Regions from separate parts of the Homo sapiens genome. Here region 1 is linked to region 2. The links are contacts of gene promoters, found by promoter capture Hi-C in human tissues and cell types (Jung and others, 2019). All regions are on one chromosome and are shown on one strand. Each heading gives the region's core, a stretch centred on a gene start or on the middle of the fragment in contact. The rest is flanking DNA. Distances are from core to core; before and after follow the strand shown.

Region 1 (4,008 bases), core at 235-2,734, 250 kb after region 2:
CAAGCGATTCTCCTGCCTTAGCCTCCTGAGGAGCTGGGATTACAGGCATGTGCCACCATGCCCAGCTAATTTTGTATTTTTAGTAGAGACCGAGTTTCTTCCTATTGGTCAGACTGGTCTCGAACTCCTGACCTCAGGTGATCCGCCCGCCTTAGCCTCCCAAAGTGGTGGGATTACAGGCGTGATCCACCACTCCTGGTCAGAATGCTACCTTTTTAACCCTTGAGGTACCTGTTTTTTTTTTTTGAGACAGAATCATACCTCTTTTTTTCCTTTTTTTTTAAGATGTTGTTTTGCTCTATTACCCAAGCTGGAGTGCAGTGGCACGATCTCAGCTCATTGCAACCTCTGCCTCCCAGGTTCAAGCGATTCTCCTGCCTCAGCTTCCTGAGTAGCTGGGACTACAGATGTGCGCCACTATGCCCGGCTAATTTTTGTATTTTTAGTAGAGACAGGGTTTTGCCATGTTGGCCAGGCTGGTCTGAAACTTCTGACCTCAGGTGATCTGTCCACCTTGGCCTCCCAAAGTGCTGGGATTACAGGCGTGAGTCACCATGCCCAGCCTGGGTACCTCTTTAGAAACCTAGGCTCCAAGGAATATAGTTTGAAAACCACCGATGTAAAGCATAATCTAAGAAAATGTATATATAGGCCAGATGTGGTGGCTCATGCCTTTGATTCCAGCACTTTGGGAGGCTGAGGCAGGAAGATCGCTTGAGCTCAGGAGTTTGTGACCACCCTGGCAACATAGGGAGACTGTCTCCACAAAAAAATTTAAAAATTACCCCGGCTTGGTGGCATGTGCCTGTGCTCCCAGCTACTTGAAAGCCTTATGTGGGAGGATTGCTTGAGCTCAGGAGGTTGAGGCTGCAGTGAGCTGTGATTACACTACTGCTTTCCAGCCTGTGTGACAAAGCAAGACTTTGTCTCAGAAAAAAAGAAAGAAAGAGACTGTGTATATAAATGCTGTATCCAGGTGATATTAAAAGGAATAAAAACTTGCAGTGTTTAAGAATACTTTTTTTTTTAACCGGAATGTGTGACAGATGAAATATATTTCCCAAGGGAATATTTCCCTTTTGTACAATTTGGGTGTTTTGCCAGGACTTTAGAGGGAATGGGTTATGGTTTCACGCCCATTTGGTGGAATGCTATCTATTTTAATGGACTTTTATTTTTACCTTTCTGATTATTCATTTTTTTGTTTGATTTTTAATCAGGCAATTATTACAGTTTACGTTCTCAGCATGAGAAAGCAGCCTTATATTTCCAGAGAGCCCTGAAATTAAATCCTCGGTATCTTGGTGCCTGGACACTAATGGGACATGAGTACATGGAGATGAAGAACACGTCTGCTGCTATCCAGGCTTATAGGTGATTATCTATAGGTGGTGAGGTAGAGCAGATTGCTGTGGTTAGGAGCCTCTAAGCCTGCAAGTTGCCAACCTTGATTCTGCCTTCTTAACAACCTGTCTTTTCCATTTCTTAGACATGCCATTGAGGTCAACAAACGGGACTACAGAGCTTGGTATGGCCTCGGGCAGACCTATGAAATCCTTAAGATGCCATTTTACTGCCTTTATTATTATAGACGGGCCCACCAGCTTCGGTAAGCCTGGTCACTTGACAATGCGTCTGATATGGGAAGGGCTAATAACTTTTTTTTCCTCTTTTGATAGCTATTGACAAATCACAGTGGATGGTTTTGGCTCTTGGGGATCTGAGGTTAAAGTTGCTGAAGGCTGTTTGGTTATTTTCATTTAGTATATTTCACTAATGGGTTAATAGTATAATTATGAACACAAAGTAATCTATTATATGGAGCATCAGGTTAAAGACCAGTTGTTGCATAGATTTGAAATAGTGGTGTACTGGTTCCTCAAAAGAGAACTTCAGTTTCTGTAAAGTCTTTGCTCAGACTGCCTGTTCTTCTTTCTCAGACCCAATGATTCTCGCATGCTGGTTGCTTTAGGAGAATGTTACGAGAAACTCAATCAACTAGTGGAAGCCAAAAAGGTACCTTAAATTGGGTCCTGAAGAATTTGAGTGGAAATCTGCTGTTTAGATGAAGGTTGGGCTATCTGTGCTCTAATTTTTCCCTTATTCTGATCTAGGTGCATAGGAAAGTCTGAATATTTATAGATACATAGTCTGAAAGCAAAGCTGGGCCAAGGTCATCAGTGGGAATGTCAGTGTGTAGCCTAGACCTATCAGAACTAGTAAAAATGTCTTGCATTCTATAAATCTGAACTTCTGGGAGGCTTGCAGGGTCTTAACCTTCATATGATTTAGTTGTGACACATGGGACAATGGTCAAAATGACCAGTTTATTTTTTTGACAGTGTTATTGGAGAGCTTACGCCGTGGGAGATGTGGAGAAAATGGCTCTGGTGAAACTGGCAAAGTGAGTGAAAGGAGTGAAATGCTATTGATATTTCTGTTGGCTTCTCTGGGATGGTGGGTCCTGCATGGTCTAGAGCCTCCCATACACCCATCATTCTACATAGGTGTAGGGATGTAGCAGGGTGTGTGAATGCTGGTTTGTGAATGTAGCCATCTTGTTCCTAGAGAATGCCACTTCTGGCCAGGTGCAGTGGCTCATGCCTGTAATTCTAGCACTTTGGGCGGCTGAGGGAGGTGGATGACCTGAGGTCAGGAGTTCAAGACCTGGGAGGTGGAGGTTGCAGTGAGCCGAGATCGCGCCATTGCACTCCAGCCTGGGCAACAAGAGCAAAACTCCATCTCAAAATAAAAAAAATAAAAAGAGAATGCTACTTCTCTTGAAGGAGGGCCGTTGCTTTCCTATTAAAGCAAGAGATCAAGATTGATTTGAAGAAAGGATAACATTTTTGTGTCAAACTACTTTCAGTATTAATTTCCTGCTAAGGGCCAGAAAAATTAGGAATAACTCAAATAGTAGGCAAAGAGGTTCTTAAATGTAAAGAGGTTCCTGTCTGGATTCTTAGGAAAAAAATTGAGTTGCTTGGTATCTTTTTTTTTTTTTTTGTAATTTATAGATAGGATCTTGCTGTGATGACCAGGTTGGTCTTGAAGTCATTGGTCTCAGCCAGATTAGAGAGTAGCTAGGATTATGGCCCTATGCCACCATGCCTGGCCACTTGTTATCTTTTTTTTTTGAGACGGAGTCTTGCTCTGTCACGGAGGCTAGAGTGCAACCTCTGCCTCCTGGGTTCAAATGATTCTCCTGCCTCAGTCTCCCGAGTAGCTGGCATTACAGGCGCTTGCCACCACACCTGGCTAATTTTTGTATTTTTTAGTAGAGACAGAGTTTTGCCATGTTGGCCAGGCTGGTCTTGAACTCCTGATCTCTGATGACCCACCCGCCTTGGCCTCCCAAAGTGCTGGGATTACAGGTGTGAGCCACAGTGCCCAGCTTTTTTTTTTTTTTTTCTTTTTTTGGAGTCAGAGTCTCATTCTGTGGCCCAGGCTGGAGTGTAGTGGTATGATCTTGGCTCACTGCAACCTCCACCTTCCAAGTTAAAGCAATTCTCCTGCTCCAGCTTCCTGAGTAGGTGGGATTACAGGCATGTGTCACAACGCCCGGCTAATTTTTCTACTTTTAGTAGAGATGAGGTTTCACCTTGTTGGCCATGCTGGTCTCAAACTCCTGACCTCAAGTGATCTGCCCTCCTTGGCCTCCCAAAGTGCTGGGATTACAGGCATGAGCCACTTTACTCTGGGTATTACTAGATAATTTTTGCAAGGATGGTTTATCTAGCTTAGATATTAATATTTACTGACTCTCCTTCCATCATTAGCAGAGTAATGATTCTAAGCTTTGATAACAGTAACTATCACATCTAATACTATTCTAGTTCCAAGAGTGTCATTTATGTCAAAATTGATACTTACCTATGTATTGTTTTTTTTGGTCTTATGTACTTTTACTTTTTTTATCACTAAGTTGCTTTGGGATATCATTGGTATTTAAAGATCAGTTTCTTTTGTAGGCTTCATGAACAGTTGACTGAGTCAGAACAGGCTGCC
Region 2 (4,038 bases), core at 499-2,998:
TCTCTAGCCCCGGAGGCAGGGAAAGGCCCAGAGGCCAGAGGGTCCAATGTAGTCCCTTGCGCCATGATCCTTGGTTACACACAAATATGTCATGGAGACTGGGAGTCAGGTCACTGCCACAGGGTGTCTTCCTTCTTGACCTCATGCCCATTCACACCCATCTGCCCTTACCCTCCACCTCCCTCAGAGCCAGGCTCTGCGAGGGAACCTGACACCACCTAACAGGGCACCCTACCTGGCAGGCAGAGGTACCACTGTGGCCCTGGGGCCCTAGGGAACAGAGGGCACAGGGGCAGGAGGCCCTGAGAGAGGCAAAGAGGCTTATTCCCCCATGTAAACACCACAGGGACAGGGCTCAGGGGAGGGCCCCGCTGGTGATCCAAGTACAGAATGCAGACAAGACACAGGCCGGGAAAGAAGAGGACCGATGCCCTTTGGGGCTTGCCCAGGCAAGAGAGAAGCAGCCACCCTGAAGGCCACATGGAGGCGTGAGGCCCCTCCATTCCCCCTGGGATGGGTGGGGGAAGAGAAGGAGTCTAGAGTAAACCAGGACAGAAGCACTTGGCCGGCCCGGCTGTACCGAATGGGAAGAAGGGAGCAGGGTGGGGCTGCCGGTGTCAGTCCCCAACGGTGGAGGCCGAGGGGCAGTGTCCTCATTAGGGCAGGGGATAGCTCCGAGAACCACGAGGAGCCCCTGTCAGGCTCAGCCCCTTGACAATGTGTGGCTGTCGCCTGTTTCCACATGGACAGGAGGGATACTTCCAAACCGGCTGGTGCAAGTGGAGTGCGGAGCAGAATCCTCAAGGACAAAGTCTGGGCTCGTGGGGAATGGTGTGTGTTCCCTCCTGGGGCCCGGGGAGGTGCCAGAGACACAGCTCCACAGTGTGGCTGGCAGCCTGGAATGAAGGCCACGGAGCGTCCTCCCCCAGCGGGGTCCACAATCCCAGGCTGAGCACACACATCCCCTCTCCCAGTTACCTCTCACACTTTGTCCTCCGAGCATTTCTGCTTCCCGATACCCAGACTTCCTCCCTAGGGGGCCTAAGGGCATATGCCCTCGTCCCCAGTCTCCTGACAGTGAGTGGAAGGGAGAGACCAAGGGGCCTGGTGATGGCTCTGAGCTGCGGAATGATGATGAGGCCCTGCCTTGCTCCACTCTCTTCCATCACCCTGTTACCTCCCCCAGAGGGACAGGGCCCGGGTCTGAGGATCTCCTCCAGCCCAGACCTGCTAGGTGGGGGAGGGGACGCGCCTGCCTCCCCTTTTAAATCAAGCCGTGCTGCTCAGCCTCTAGGATGGGCGCAGGAGCAAGGACGGTAGAAATAAAAGAGGTTATTAATAAAGAATGTGGGTGAGGTCCCTGGGAAGCCAGGCCTGCCACGCTCCCCTAATATTCCCCCCTCCAGTCCTGGGTGCCACATCTCCATGTCTCTGGGGGCCCCAAATAAGGACGCAGCGCCTTTAGGTGACTCTGCTGCACGAAGCTTCGGAGAAGTCCACCCGGGCTTTAACACCCCCGCCCTCCATCACAGCCCGCATCACCCCCCGCCGCCGCCGCACTCACACCACCAGGCGAGAGATGATCCAGGACACCATGGCGGGGCCGGGCGCGGCGCGGGGCGGGGACCCGGCCCGGCCGAGGATGCAGCTGCCTGAGGCCGAGCGGCGGCGGCGGCGGCAGCAGGAGCCGCAGTAGCAGCAGCAGCCGCTGCAGCAGCCGCCGCGGGGGCAGCGGAGCGCCCAGCGCCGCCGTTAAAGGGGAGGTCCCTGCCGCAGCGGCGGGCCGTGGGCGGTGGCGGCTCTTAAAGGGGAGGCCGGGAGGCCGCCGCGGCGGCGGCGGCGCGCCCCCGCCCCGGCACCTGCTGTGGCCGGGCATGCGCCTCCGACCCTCAGTGCCCTGCCTTCCTCGAATCGCTTGTTCATCTTTCTTGGGTTTCAAGCCCTAGGCTGTTGTCGTGGAGGTCTCCATGGTTACATCCTGAAATCGACCCCTGCCCACCTCCTGCCCTGCCCACACCAGGCGCTTACTGTGTGCCAGCCCCTGTGCTAAGAGCTTCACTGCGTTGCCAGTGAATCCTCTTGACCACCCTATAAGGCAGGCGCTATAAAAGCCCTCATTTTGAAGATAAGGGAATGAGAAGCTTAAGGCTCAATAATCTGTTGAGAGTCACAAAGCCACCAAGTCATGCTGCTAAGATGACCCCAGGAAGCCTACTTTAAACAGGTTACATCCCCCAACTGCTGACTAGCAAACTCTCCTCATTACAGGCCCTGAAGACATCCACCTGAGCTCCTGAGTCACAGGTACAGCCGCACCTGTCCACCCCACTCCTTCTCACCCCGTTGAAAGAGGATCTCCCCTGACCAGATGATGTTTTGTTTTTTTGAGACAGGTCCTCACTCTGTCGCTCAGGCTGGAGTGCAGTGGCACAATCTCAGCACACCTCCTGGGCTTGAATGATCCTCCCGCCTCAGCCTCCCGAGTAGCTGGGACTACAGGCCCAAAACACCACCAGCTAATTCCTGTTTTTTTGTTTTTTGTTTTTTTTTGCCAAGATGGGGTTTTGCAATATTGCCCAGGCTGATCTCCAACTCCTGAGCTCAAGCGATCCACCCGCCTCAGCCTCCCAAAGTGCTGGGATCACTGGTGTGAGCCACCGGGCTGCTGGTCTGCTTTTTTAGGTTGTCAGCTCCTAAGCTTTGCAGCGGAACAGAGCTTTATGCTCTCAATGTGGTTACTGACAACAAAGGGTCAACCTTCTTTTCAAACAGAGGGGCTGCGAGAGGGTCCTGGGGCTCCAGTTCCACCCCCATCAGCAAGCACTAGTGGCAGTGAATGTCCTGATTCTAAAGACATTTATATCCAGAATGTAGGCTAGCCTGCCTCCTGATCTTCAGGAAAGCAACCAACCTCCAACCATCCACCAACACCCCCAGCCCTATTGCTCTCCTTTCCTGTCCCATTTTAGAGCTTCTGCATTCCTCTACCCTTTATGTTGAGTTGTAATCCTTCGGGTGACCACAGCATCAACCTGTGCCCATCTGGGCTGAAAGGACACATTCAGAACTGTGTATTTCAAAGAGTCATGGTCTTATTCAAGCTCAGTATCCCTGAACAACACAATGGTCTATTTCTAACCTGGTAAATTATATTTCCAGGTTCAAACACTTTGGAAGATGTTTCCCAAAACGTTCCAGAAAAGCAGCCTCTGATAACCCCTCTTGCTATTCTTTACAACTTCCTCTCCAGAAAACATCTCCTAATTGGAATGCAGTCTGTTATCACCCCACAATGAAACACTTTAATTACTGCTTGATAAATCCCACATGAGTGTCTCCCACCATCTCTAAGGTGGATCTATGGCCACACGTTTCATGTAGGCAGCCAGGCTGCCTGCTTAAGAATCCCACCACAGACTGTCCAACTTTGCTGAGGCCACACACCATGACCCTTCCCCCCAGACTCTGCCACAGGAAGGGAGGACCCCAACTTTCCCACTCCATTCACAAAGCATAAAGTATGGGGAAACATGTCTCTCTTTCTACCCTCTAATTCATGTGGCCCCTTCCCCTTACCCCCAATTCCCCAAACCATACTGACCTCACCCTGGCACTTTCCTTTTTTCTAACATGGCACAGTCTCAACAAGCAAAGAAAAATATCTGGGTGTAGCACAGTCATGAAGACCTGGAAATGAATCCCCCACCTCCAACCCAACTCCCAATCTGATGTTGATTTTAGAAGGGTTGGTACACGAATAATTTAGTCCACTCCAAACAGATTTGTTAGATTTTTAATAAGAACATGGAAATCCCAATCAGCCCTTCAACAAAATTAAAATACAGAAAGTGAAATTAAAAGTATTCTACATTAAATGACTTTTATTTAAAAAAAAAAAAAAAAGTAACTGTGAACATATAAACAGCCTGCAGGGCACTACAGTACAGCTGGAGAGATATACATTTTCCAATGTACCTATGGGCCAATGAATCCCACCATTTTCAAATAAATCCTTAATCAGACTCCACTCAGTTGGAA

What was found. Contacts are between HindIII fragments. The study calls those that stand out against the background at their distance.
Region 1: a contact is called between a fragment that was not itself captured here and the fragment with the promoter of REEP2 in region 2, in 2 of the 25 tissues and cell types used here (bladder and spleen).

What each region holds. Positions count from the first base shown.
Region 1 is chr5:138,189,870-138,193,877 of GRCh38, reverse strand. CDC23 (cell division cycle 23) reads left to right here. Exons shown (of 16, transcript NM_004661.4): 10 at 1,221-1,374; 11 at 1,490-1,609; 12 at 1,941-2,016; 13 at 2,343-2,404; 14 at 3,972-4,008. Among named protein-coding and RNA genes, the nearest start is that of KIF20A, 13 kb to the right of the region's middle. The HindIII fragment of the contact is 5,036 bases long and covers 1-4,002 here.
Region 2 is chr5:138,436,767-138,440,804 of GRCh38, reverse strand. REEP2 (receptor accessory protein 2) reads right to left here and starts at 1,748. Exons shown (of 8, transcript NM_001271803.2): 1 at 1,565-1,748. The coding sequence starts at 1,596. KDM3B (lysine demethylase 3B) reads right to left here. Exons shown (of 24, transcript NM_016604.4): 24 at 3,778-4,038. RefSeq lists an enhancer at 582-1,115 and a silencer at 1,501-1,920. The HindIII fragment of the contact is 10,254 bases long and covers 1-2,420 here.